3 separate regions of the Homo sapiens genome follow, and all the other regions are linked to region 3. Evidence: promoter capture Hi-C in 16 types of primary human blood cells and fetal thymus (Javierre and others, 2016). All regions are on one chromosome and are shown on one strand. Each heading gives the region's core, a stretch centred on a gene start or on the middle of the fragment in contact. The rest is flanking DNA. Distances are from core to core; before and after follow the strand shown.

Region 1 (4,166 bases), core at 1,529-4,028, 260 kb before region 3:
AAACTGCCTTAAAGACAAATAAAAACCTTAAGCTAAATAAGTCACCCTCAGAATTATTCAGACTCTCATGAATGGTGGGGCTCAAATACCTAACAACTTGCTTTCTTTTTCAACTTTATAGAGAATCTAGTGAATACTCTCTCCCATTTAAAAAAAGGGTGACTCTTTTCTCCCACAATTACAGAACTATTATCTTATTAGACTTCCATTTATAATATATGCCAGCTTCATGATAGAAGGCTTTTGCAGGCCTGTGTACACAAGAGGTTTCAGAATCACCTGGGGAGTTGTTTTTTTTTTTTTTTTTTTTTTTTAAGACAGAGCCTCGCTCTGTCGCCCAGGCTGGAGTGCAGTGGTGCGATCTTGGCTCACTGCAAGCTCCGCCTCCTGGGTTCATGCCATTCTCCTGCCTCAGCCTCCTGGTAGCTGGGACTACAGGCACCAGCCACCACGCCTGGCTAATTTTTTGTATTTTTAGTAGAGACGGGGTTTCACTGTGTTAGCCAGGATGGTCTCAATCTTCTGACCTCGTGATCCGCCCACCTCGGCCTCCCAAAGTGCTGGGATTACAGGCGTCAGCCACCGCGCCTGGCCCACCTGGGGAATTTTTTAAAAGCATAGATTCTAACAGCTTCCCCCAGAGTGTCTGACTCTGAATCTAAGAGGGGCCCAAGAATCTATTCCCAAGATAAGCAAAGTTTTGAAAACCACCATTCCACAAACATATGCTTAGAGAACAGTTATTCAACTTAAGTTTGTATAAGCACTCAAACATACTTTTAAAAACATTTGAAAGTATAAAATGAAAACTGTCCTAAATATAAAAAGAAACAGAGTGACTGGCCACCCACTAGAGAAATTATGACATTTATTTACATTCAAGAAAATCTCTCCCGTCTTAAACAAAACACAACAAATACCCTCCACCCCTAATTCCCTCTCTAACAACTACCTTACCCTTCTACCAACTTCCATTGACAAATTTATTTTAAAAGTAGACTATGGTTAGAAGGCAGAATAGTGGATACCCTTAGCAAGCTGGGTAGTGACTAGAAGGGCCACGAGAAGAGCTTCTAGAGTGCTAGTATGTTTAGTTTGTAAAAATTCACTTATGCCCCGTTTACTTTCCTATATGTATGTTATACAAATGGTCTCAGACTTACAAATGGTTCAACCTTACATGGTGCAGAAGCGATACGCATTCTGTAGAAACCGCACTTTGAGTACCCATATAACCATTCTGCTTTTCACTTTCAGTGCAGTATTCAATAATGTACATGAAACATTCAATAGTTTATTATAAAATAGGCTTTGTGTTAGATGATTCTGCCCAACTGTGGGCTACTGGAAGTGTTCTGAGTACATTTAAGGGAGGGTAGGCTAAATTATGATGTTTGGTAGGTTAGGTGTGTTAATTTTTGACTTAATGATATTTTCAACTTATGATAGGTTTATCAGAATGCAACCCCACCACAAGCTGAGGAGCATCCGCATTTAAGCACAAAGTCAAAAAGGCAGATTCTGTTTGCTTTCTCAATTTTATCTCCTCCTCCCTTTACTACTAAATGCACCTAAAACCTTTCTTCCCAAGACCACCAATAGCCTCCCAGTTGCTAAACCCCACTGGACATCTGGCATCTTGGTTGCACCCTGAAACTGGTGACTACTCTACATCTTCAACCCCTTTCTTTGGCTTACAGGATTCTACCCTATCCCCATTCTAGAGGCTTTCTAGGTACTCTCTCCTCCCCTTTTGGGCCTTCTCTTCCTCTGCATAGCTCTTCAAGGTTGATGAGTCATGGAGTAGTCTTTAACTCTCTCCTCTTCTCACTCCAGGGCAATTTCATTAAAATCTAATTCTTTCTTTTTTTTTTCTTTCAGACAGAGTCTCGCTCTGTCACCCAGACTGGAGTCCAGTGGCCTGATCTCGGCTCACTACAATCTCCGCCTCCCGGGTTCAAGGGATTCTCATGCTTTAGCCTCCCAAGTAGCTGGGATTACAGGCGCCCGCCACCACGCTCAGCTAATTTTTGTGTTTTTAGTAGAGACAGGGTTTCGCCATGTTGGCCAGGCTGGTCTCAAACTCCTGGGCTCAAGGGATCCACCTGCCTCAGCCTCCCAAAGTGCTGGGATTATAGGCGTGAGCCACCACACCTGGCCAAAATCTAAGTCTTTAACTCCCACTCATATGCTACTGATGCTCAAATCAGTATCCCTAGCCTGGGCCTCTCCCTAAGCCTCAGGCTTGTGTGTTTCCTGTGTTTCTAACTCCCTGAGGGACATGTTACCAGGCTTTTCAACTGCTACTTCAAACAGGCTATATCCAAAGGTGACCTTTTTTTTGGAGTGATGGAATATATTATTTCTATTTTCCATGTAAATAATTTAAACTCTCTCTATGTAAGTATATATACACTTACAGTATCTTACCCTTCTACCAAGTTTATATATATGTATATAAACTATATGTATATATATACTTATAGACTTATACATACTATATATACTTAAAAATATAGTTTATATAGTTTAAGTATATATAATACTTTATGTATTTCTATATATAGTTTACATTTATATATTTAAAATGTATGACATTATGCTTTCAACTATCTTTCTCCAAAACTGTTTTTATGAGATTCTCTACCTTATTTAATGATCCTACAAGCCACACAAAGGACAACATAAAAGCAACTCTTTAATGATAAAGAATGAAAATAAATTTTTTTTTTTTTGAGACAGAGTTTTGCTCTTTCACCCAGGCTGGAGTGAAGTGGCGCAATCTCGGCTCAAGACAACCTCCGTGCCCCTGGGGTTCAAACGATTCTCCTGCCTCAGCCTCTCAAGTAGCTGGGATTACAGGCAGCCACCACCACACCCAGCTAATTATTTTTTTTTTTTTTGAGACGGAGTCTCGCACTGTCGCCCAGCCTGGAGTGCAGTGGCGCGATCTCCACTCACTGCAACCTCCGCCGTCTCTCGGATTCAAGCGATTCTCCTGCCTCAGCCTCCCAAGTAGCTGGCATTACAGGCGCCCGCTACCATGCCCAGCTACTTTTTGGAATTTTAGTAGAGACAGGGTTTCACCATGTTGGCTAGGCTGGTGGTCTCAAACTCCTTACCTCAGGTGATCCACCTGCCTTGGCCTCTCATACTGCTGGAATTGGCCAAGGTGGGCAGTTCACGAGGTCAGGAAATCGAGACCATCCTAGAAACACAGTGAAACCCCATCTCTACTAAAAATACAAAAAATTAGCAGGGCATGGTGGCGGGCGCCTGTAGTCCCAGCTACTCAGGAGGCAGAGGCAGGAGAATGGCGTGAACCTGGGAGGTGGAGCTTGCAGTGAGCCAAGATCGCGCCACTGCACTCCAACCTGGGCGACAGAGCGGGACTCCGTCACAAAAAAAAAAAAAAAGTGCTGGGATTACAAGCGTGAGCCACCGCGCCTGGCCTCAGTCAACCTTTTCTGCAATAATTTCCATTCTGACAGCATTTTTCACTCGAAACAAAACTATTTTAATCTGATTCTAATTATTTAGGAGGTAAAAATCTGAAATGGGTTTTTTACAAAAAAAAAAAACAAACTATGAACACTGACAATACTTTTGAGATTATTCTTATTCTAAGTAACCAACACAAAAAAAAGAACTATGTGAAAGAACTCAGAATACAACAAAATGATGAAGACAATAAAAAAATTTTGTCAAAATCAGGCTACACTGTTGTCCTCAGTAACGTGTTGTAAATTGAATGAAAAATCAAGAGAAAGGCCGGGCGCGGTGGCTCACGCCTGTAATCCCAGCACTTTGGGAGGCCGAAGCGGGCAGATCACGAGGTCAGGAGATCGAGACCATCTTGGCTAACATGGTGAAACCCCATCTCTACTAAAAATACAAAAAAAAAAAAAACAAAACATTAGCCAGGCGTGGTGGTGGGAACCTGTAGTCCCAGATACTCAGGAGGCTGAGGCAGGAGAAAACCTGGGAGGCGGAGCTTGCAGTGAGCCGACATCACGCCACTGCACTCCAGTCTGGGCGACAGGGCAAGGCTCCGTCTGAAAAATAAATAAATAAATAAATAAAAATAAAAATCAAGAGAAATGAGTCCACAATTCTTGAAACGTCAAAAGAATACAGAATACTCTCCTCCATAAGGAGCATTCAGG
Region 2 (4,010 bases), core at 992-3,491, 320 kb after region 3:
AGACAGGCTAGGTGACCTTAGCCTTGTCTAAGCACATTTTACATTATATAGGGCTCTTTCATATTGTTCCCAACTTCTAGGACTTTGTCACCTTTTGGAAAAGCAGAAATAAAATTAGGCACATGAAAGTTTAAATAATCAAATCAACAGAATGGATTTTAAGTAGCATTTTGTGCAGTGGAAAAGGAAGAAGTGAAACAAGCGATTTGCAAGCTCAGAAAGATCAGCGCTTTGTTGCTTAGGCTGAGAAAATCTCCCTCTCCACAAACATCCAGCTTCTTCCTGCTCACTGACAACTGCCACCAATTATCGCTCCACTTCCAGGTAGCACCTGAAAGTCACTTTAGGAACCACAGGCCACTGGTCTTCTCTTTGTCTGCCCATGCACACCAACTGGATTACTTAGCTCTTCTGGTAAAGCTCCTGGTTAAATAAGTTGTTAGTATGTCTTTTTTAATGCTTTGATTTAATTTGAATGGAAAAGACATGGTAGTCTACATACTTCTACCAAGATGAAGATGACCAAGATGTTCTTGAAAATCCAAAAGTCTAGAAGACCACTGGATGTCTTTTTTTTTGAGATGGAGTCTTGCTCTGTCGCCCAGGCTGGAGTGCAGTGGCACGATCTCGGCTCACTGCAAGCTCCGCCTCCCAGGTTCATGCCATTCTCCTGCCCCAGCCTCCTGAGTAGCTGGGGCTACAGGGGCCCGCCACCACGCCCGGCTAATTTTTCGTACTTTTAGTAGAGCTGGGGTTTCACCACGTTAGCCAGGATGGTCTCGGTTTCCTGACCTCGTGATCCGCCCGCCTCGGCCTCCCAAAGTGCTGGGATTACAGGCGTGAGCCACCGCACCTGGCCGAGGTCTTTTACTGTGTATGTTACTTTTCTTTACATTCAGAGTAGAGATGCAACTATTTTATTAAGCAAAGAATTGGCTGCATAAACGTCCACTGAAGGCACAAAAGCTAAATAGCTACCCACCAATAATCTCATTCAGTGAGAAAACTAGTCCAATCAGAGACCCAAGGAGTGGCTTCCAGTCACATTTGTACCTTTCCTTAAAGAACATTCTTCCTGTCCTTTTAGTTACATATGTTTATGTTTACATATTGCCAAAAAAAAAAAAAAAGCCAAGGTTTGGTGGAAATGGCTAAAGTAAGCTGTACTTTATTCACTCATAATAGGAAATAACAATTTCATATACTGAGCCCTGAGTTCAAGTTCACTTTTTTTTTTTTTTGAGAGGGGGGTCTGGGTATGTTGCCTAGGCAGATCTTGAACTTTTGGGCTCACGTGATCCTCCCACCTCCGCCTGCAGGGTCGTTGGGACTATAGGTGCATGTCACCATGCCAGGCTCTCAAGTTCACTTGAGATAAAGAATACCCAACACTGTGTAAGCATAGACTCCTGTCCAAAAGTGGTGGTGAAGCGTGAAGGGGGCTGTCCTATGGTGGTGGTGTAGAGAAGGGGTATGAAAGAAAGTGCCAGTGACCTTACATTTGATCCTTTCCAATGGTAGTAGTGGGGTGGGGGGGTATGAAACAGAGTCAGTGACCTTGCAATTATCCTGTCCACTGGCATTGGGGAGGTAGGGGGTGTTATTGACCCTTGACCTCACAATGGATCCCGTCCAACGGTGGTGGTGGGGGGACATGAAATGCAATCAGTCACTTAATCTTGTGCGGGAAGGAGGGGAAAGGAACCACGAAAAAGAGAATCAGCGAACTAACAATCCAGTCCAAAGGTGTTCCAAAGGTGTTCTCTTGGGAGTCAGGCAGGGAGGTGGGGGTGGGGCTGGGCCACGAAACAGAGTCAGTCTAGTTAGGCTGTAAAATCTAAGTGTCAGGATGCAGCGAACGGCAAGTCCTCCTCCCGGAAAAGGCGCCTGCGGTTGAGAAGGGTCTTGAGCAGCGCGGAGGATCGGATTCCGGGCTCCTGGCCTCTTCCCGGTCCGCGGGCACCTCGGCTACCTTTCGGCAGCGGAGAACCCAGCCAGAGGCGGAGCTGAAAGCGGCTGCACTTGCTGGGCTGGGCTGAGTCCCATGAGCCAGGGAGGGGGGTCTCTGGCGCCGCGCCCGGACAAAACACAAACGTCACAGAGGCAGCGGCGGCCAATCAGTGGAGGGCGCGCGCGGCCGCGTGCCCCTCGCGCTCCTCGCCTCCCCTCGCGCGCCGCGTACGTGCAGCAACCGACTCCGCCCAGCGAGGCGGAGCCTAGGGAAGCCGCGGGCGGCCCGCCGCTGTCCTGGAGCTGCTGCTGCTGCTGCGGCGGCTGCACCGGCGGCGCCGAGGCCGAGATCGAGGCCGGGGTGCGCGCTTCGCAAACGTGCCCTATCCGTGCGGCTTGGCTGCGCCAGCCCTTGCGGCCACCCGGGCGTCTAGGCGGGTCTGTGCGCCGCCCGGGCGAGGATGCGGCTGTTCCGGTGGCTGCTGAAGCAGCCGGTGCCCAAGCAGATCGAGCGCTACTCGCGCTTTTCGCCGTCGCCGCTCTCCATCAAACAATTCCTGGACTTCGGTGAGTACGGGGCCAAGGGTCCCCATGGGCCCGGGGCCGCCGCCATTCGGGCTGCCACCCCGGATCTCCGCAGCTTCGGGGTAAAGTCTGTGGGAACCGCAGGCGGGGCTAGGGAATATCCGGGGGGCTCTCCTGGGGCTCGGATTTCGGGGCGCGGAGGGGCAGGGCCTGGCCCCCTCGCACCCAGCCTGGGACTTACCCGGAGACACAGAAACGGCGTCTCATTGCAGGACCCTCATCGCAGGCGAGACTCCCCAAACCTGCGGTCGTTAGCTTCAAATCTGCTTGACACAAACCTCACAGCCCTTAAAACTTCAGAACGAGATGTGGGTGGCTTTTTAATGTTTTTATTTTTAGAATTTTTTTTTTTTGGTTGGGTAAGAACTGTTTAGAAATACCTTGAGGTTGAATAAATTATGCAATGGCATTTTGTTCCTTTTCTGCTCTAAGGTGTTGCTGTGTGGCTGGAGTGGCAGGACTCGAACTGTTGTCTTCATCAGGTTATGTTAAATCAGTTAGAGGCCTGGCCTGCAGACGCCTTAGATGCTTGGGAAGAGCGGACGTCTGGGATCCTAGCATCAGAGCAGGGTCTAATACAACTCTGGCTTTAGTGCCAGCACCTTTCGTTTCTCTTCTCCATTGGTGTCCCACCCACATTCTCCCTGTCCGGTGGGCTGGTGGGCGGCTTTCACGGATTGAGGTGGGACCAAAGAAGATTCGGGTTCCCAGCCTGCCTCAGGCCTAGCTGAGATGGGAATAGATTCCACCACCTTCTGTTAACTGAATCATGTTTCCCCAGAAAACGAAGGAGCTGGTTGTGAAACACCTAAAAGTAAAACGCATGCATTGAGGTATCAGAATGGAACTCAGCATCCCTGGAGGAAAATCAAATCCAGCAGCAAAGATGTTCTAAGCTCTCCAGGGGAAATCGTAGGGTGTCTGTTCATTTAATGAATTTTATGTAAATGTCAAGGGTGTCAGTGATAGTGTCAGTTGGGCATAAAAACTAAAGTGCAGAGTAGGTAGAACATTTGAGGAAGACCTGATATGCAAAAAGTGATGTCCATACTTTTTTTTTTTTAAAAGCTAGGATAGGAAGAGAGGAATAGGTTAAAGTTGAGACCAAATTAAAATTTTAGAAGCCAATTTGCCAGAGAATGATGATGAAAGTCAAAGTTCAATGACACGTTGATTTCTGCATCTTCAAACTTCACTCCCAAAAGCTATTGGTAGTTTTACTTACTATCTCGAGAATTGTAGAGGTTTGAGGCAGTTTCTGACTTTAGAGTTTAGAAAATGTTGCTATTGCTATAAATATAGGCAAGTTTTCCATCTTTATGGTTTAGGGAAGATTCTGAAGGTATCAGCCTTTCATTAGTGTAAACTGAAACAGGATAATTCACAATAAAAGGAACAAAAGGAATCCAGAAACTCCCAGTTCTTTCCACCCTCAAAGTTTAAGTGATAGCTCCAATAGCCAGCCAAAATTTTGG
Region 3 (4,108 bases), core at 1,125-3,624:
ACAGTCTCTTCCTGTATGAAAAGTAATGACAAAGGGCTCTTTGAAAGTATCAATCCCTAAACTACTTGTGATCTTTTAAACTGAGAAAACTTCTTTTTCTTTCATGCTCCTTGGACACTGTTTTCTTAAGTGCTTTACACTGGTGGATGTATAAGTATTTTTGATGGTAATTATGGAAAAACTAACAAGAATGGTGACATTAGGTTTTTCTGTCTTGAACATGCTGCTTACAGTTGCATGGATGAAGTGAGGCTCTATTCTTCTTCTTTTTTTTTTTTTTTAATAGAGACGAGGTCTCACCATGTTACCCAGGCTAGTCTTGAACTCCTGGGCTCAAGTGATCCTCTCGCCTCGGCCTCCCAAAGTGCTGTGATTACAGGACTGAACCAGGGAACCTGGCCTCCATTCTTGCCATACCGTAGCATCACACTGAGGCCCTTGGAAAGTACTTAAACGCTGATTATCAATGTTTTGAAATATTAATGTGGGCGGCCGGGCACGGTGGCTCACGCCTGTAATCCCAGCACTTTGGGAGGCCGAGGCGGGTGGATTACCTGAGGTCAGGAGTTGGAGACCAGCCTGGCCAACATGGTGAAACCCCATCTCTACTAAAAAAATAGAAAAATTAGCCAGGCGTGGTGGCAAGTGCCTGTAATCCCAGCTACTCGGGAGGCTGAGGCAGGAGAATCGCTTGAACCCCGAAGGCAGAGGTTCAGTGAGCCAAGATCACGCCATTGCACTCCAGTCTGGGAGTGCAAGAAATATTAATGTGGGCACACAAGCTATTTCTCATTTTTTTTTATTGAAACAACATTGCTTAGTTTCATTTACCTTTCTGTGAAATGTCTTTCTGTGAAAGTCTATCACAGCCTGATGTAATTTTTATAAACAATGAATACATGCTGTTACTATTTTTGAAAGGAAATTTAATCGCTTGGAAAAATTCAGACTAAAGCCCCGAGAGGAAAATTATCATCCAGTGCATGCTCAGAGATTTCTTCTTACTCTACTTTTGTTTTTCCTTTTTGAAAGCATTTGTGATTGAGAGATGTCTGAGGGAAGGGACAAATTGCATTCTGGGAGTTTTAAAGAGTTATGTCAGGCAACTAAAATACGTGGCCTCTGTATTTAAAGAGATTTCACACCAGTATACTATTTGCTTTATAATTTTTGTGTTTCTTATTGTTTAAAAATGCCTTTAACATTTAGTGCTGTGTTAAAGGATAGCATGCCAGATTCCAGATTAATGTAAAGACTCCACTATTTAACTTTTCCCTAGTAACTTTAAAACAGAGTTTGGGTTCCAAGTTCAGCATGGAAAGATAGCATAAACATTTAAACTAAGTAAAGTGCGAAATACACATTTTTGAAGTTGGTAAGTGCTGTTTAATCATTTTCCCCTTCTCTCCCAAGTCTTTTGAAACTTCAAAAGGCTTGTTTAAGCAGTGTGTTTAAAAAAAAAAAAATCCATACCCAATTGGGCTCCTCTCTATTAAGGAATGTGGAAAATTCATGATTTATGAAACGATGACACCAGTCTTACATTTCACAGGCTCCCAAGCTCTGAAACACGGGTACATAGGAAAATACACAGAAAATTCCTGTTCTTTGCAACGTGCGAAACGTTTCAAAATGCAACTTTGCTCATCTCCCTCCCCCGTACAAACTAATAAAATCAGTTTGGCTCTGACTGCTTATTTTTAAAAAGTAGACGGCCTGGTAGGTGCTCTAGGGATAACCCTTCTCCCCCCACTCCACCCCCCTTCCCGCACACCCATTTAGACTGGCAAGCCCGTTTTCATTTTATTTCAAAGATTTTTTTTTTTTAAGCGAAGGCAGGGGACGGCGGGGGTTGCTAAATTTATCTTCCTCCCCAGCCACGGGGATGAAGAAAACACATTTACTGCGGGCGGGGGTCTGAGGGCCTGCAAACAACTCGAGCTGGAGCCTCGGCCAGGACCGGCGCGAGAGGCGGTAGGTCTCCAGGGAGGCCCCCGGGGGGCGGCCGCGGCCCACGGGACATGGTGGGGGGCGGCCGGGCCGCCTGCCTCTCCGCGGGGTCGGCCGACCGCGGCCCCGCGCGGGCTTTACGGCCGAGGCGGCGGCGGCAGCGGCGCGTGTGTGGCGGCGGCGGGCGGGAGCGCGGAGGAGGTGGAAAGAAGGGGGGCGCTGTCACGGAGACTCCGGCCGCCGGAGACCCCGCCGCAGCGAGGCCACTGGGCTCCCCGGTCGCGGGGCGGGAGCGGCGCCGACACGGGGTGCCAGGAGGACCCACCGGGCGGAGGAGGGGGCCTGTCTACCCTTCCGCATTTTCCTGGGTCTCTCTCCCGGGCGGTGACGTGACGTGCTGACGGCGGGCCCGTGCCGGGGAGCTGGGCCGCTTTTTGTCAGCTCCGAGCTCGGCCCCTCCTCCCTCCCTCCGCCCGCCCCACCAGCCGGAGCCCGGCCCAGTGCTCCAGAGAAAGGCCGGCCTGCAGCACCCGCCACCGTCGCCGGCCGCCCGCACGTCCGTCCGGTGAGTCCCGGGTGCCGCCGCGGCCGCGGGGCCTAGTGCGCGCACAGCGGCCTGGTCTCGGCCTGGTCGGCGGCCCGCAAGGCGCCCTCCCGCGCTAGGCCGGGCGGCGTGGCGCGCGGCGCCGAGCAGGCCCCGAGGAGGCCGCAGTTAGGCCCGGGGAGGAGCCCGGCTGCCCCGAGCGGCGGCGGAGGCGCGCTCCGTAAGCGGGCGGGGGTTGGGGGAGGGTCGCCCGGTTGTGCCGGAGGCGGTCGAGGGGCCCCGGGTCGGCTCCGCGGCCGACCTGGGGCACCGCGCCGGGGTGAGGCCTGGCGAGGAGGCGAAGGCTGCAGGCGTGAGGTGAAGGCCGCAGGCCGGCCGGGCCGATTTTCGCTATGTAAATATCGGTGAGGGGGGGGGAGGGACGGGGGACAAGATGGCGGCGGCTCGGCGCCTGCTGCAGGGGACGATAGAGGGGGTTGCCGGGAGGGGGAGCCGCCATCTTGGAGGCGGTGTCTGGAGAGAAAATTCCGCTACAGCCCGTGAGGGGGGGTGGGAGAGCGGGCGGCGGCGGCAGCGGCGCCGGTGACGGGCCCCGGAGGCCCGGCGCGGCGGCGTGTGCGCGCGGAGGGGCGTGCTCGCTCCCCGTGGCGGCCATTGCCCTTGCCGCCATGATGAGCGCTCGGGCTCCAGGCGCTCGGCGGCAGCGCCACCTTCCTGCCTTGCCTCCCGCAGCCCCGTGACTGGCTGCAGTTTCCGCTGCGTTTCAGCTGAGCTGCCGCAGGCGGCCACCGCCGCCGCCCGGACGCCGGGACCGTTTCACCCTCAGCGCCCCTGGCCCTGCGCCTTCCCCCGCGCCTGTAGCCACCCGAGGGCAGTCGGGGCAGGTGGCATTCCGGACACCTGGGCTTACCAGGGCATACGGGACCCCAGGAAATGTTATTTTTGCTTAAGTCAAATCATATGTGGCTGCTAAGGTGCTTTCGATGCAGTTGTTTTTCCAACAATCTTTGCCGCCCCGAGTATCTGAATAAAGGAAGAAAAATAAAGATTGATGGGAAAGTTTTTGCCATTCTTTTGTCCTATAGGGAAAAAAATTGCACAACACGAGAGCGGAGGAATAAAATTTTGAATCATTCGTACTCATTTATGTGGAAACAACTTTCTTGAAAAACGATTTAAGTAGTGATCTGTTGGTGGTATTTTTTTAAATCGAGGAATAAGGGCAGACTTTTTTATTTTCTTATTGGAGGACAACTTAGTGTGGTGCATATTTATTGTGCATTTGCCTGTCATGGTATTTCGATTTTTCATTTGTGAAGTTTTAAGGCGGAGTTTCATCCCCTAACGTACTTTTTTGATTGCACACTGTGCAACTTTCTTGATAAACTCGGAGCCTACTGTTAGCGATGCACCGTGCTAGATGCTAAGAAACATTAAAAAGGTTCTTGTAATGCAGACGGTGGCTGCAAGAAGTCTCATGTTTAGAGGTAGGTGGGGCAAGGTGAAATGCAGTAAAGTGAGAGGTACAACTAATTACTGGGATTTCCGAGGGAAGCAAGGTTGCCATTGGAGGATCAGGGAGGGACGGGTTCCTGAAGTATTAATAGGTGGCAT

Evidence for each region. The method cuts DNA at HindIII sites, captures the fragments that hold promoters and counts their contacts. A CHiCAGO score of 5 or more calls a contact.
Region 1: a fragment that was not itself captured here is called in contact with the fragment with the promoter of ZFX-AS1 in region 3 in 2 of 17 cell types (total CD4 T cells and naive CD8 T cells); the score reaches 6.3 in total CD4 T cells.
Region 2: the fragment with the promoter of PDK3 here is called in contact with the fragment with the promoter of ZFX-AS1 in region 3 in 4 of 17 cell types (naive CD4 T cells, naive CD8 T cells, non-activated CD4 T cells and 1 more); the score reaches 6.9 in naive CD4 T cells.

What each region holds. Positions count from the first base shown.
Region 1 is chrX:23,889,367-23,893,532 of GRCh38, forward strand. All of the region lies in intron 1 of APOO (apolipoprotein O), which reads right to left. Among named protein-coding and RNA genes, the nearest start is that of APOO, 16 kb to the right of the region's middle. The HindIII fragment of the contact is 7,288 bases long and covers 1-4,166 here.
Region 2 is chrX:24,463,045-24,467,054 of GRCh38, forward strand. PDK3 (pyruvate dehydrogenase kinase 3) reads left to right here and starts at 2,242. Exons shown (of 11, transcript NM_005391.5): 1 at 2,242-2,517. The coding sequence starts at 2,412. RefSeq lists a silencer at 1,983-2,302. The HindIII fragment of the contact is 17,643 bases long and covers 1-4,010 here.
Region 3 is chrX:24,147,280-24,151,387 of GRCh38, forward strand. It overlaps ZFX-AS1 (ZFX antisense RNA 1), which reads right to left and starts at 2,375. Exons shown (of 3, transcript NR_046657.1): 1 at 2,276-2,375; 2 at 1,474-1,563. It overlaps ZFX (zinc finger protein X-linked), which reads left to right and starts at 2,450. Exons shown (of 10, transcript NM_003410.4): 1 at 2,450-2,515. RefSeq lists enhancers at 1,787-1,886, 2,093-2,906 and silencers at 1,997-2,356, 2,417-2,826, 2,847-2,896, 2,947-3,456. The HindIII fragment of the contact is 5,789 bases long and covers 1-4,108 here.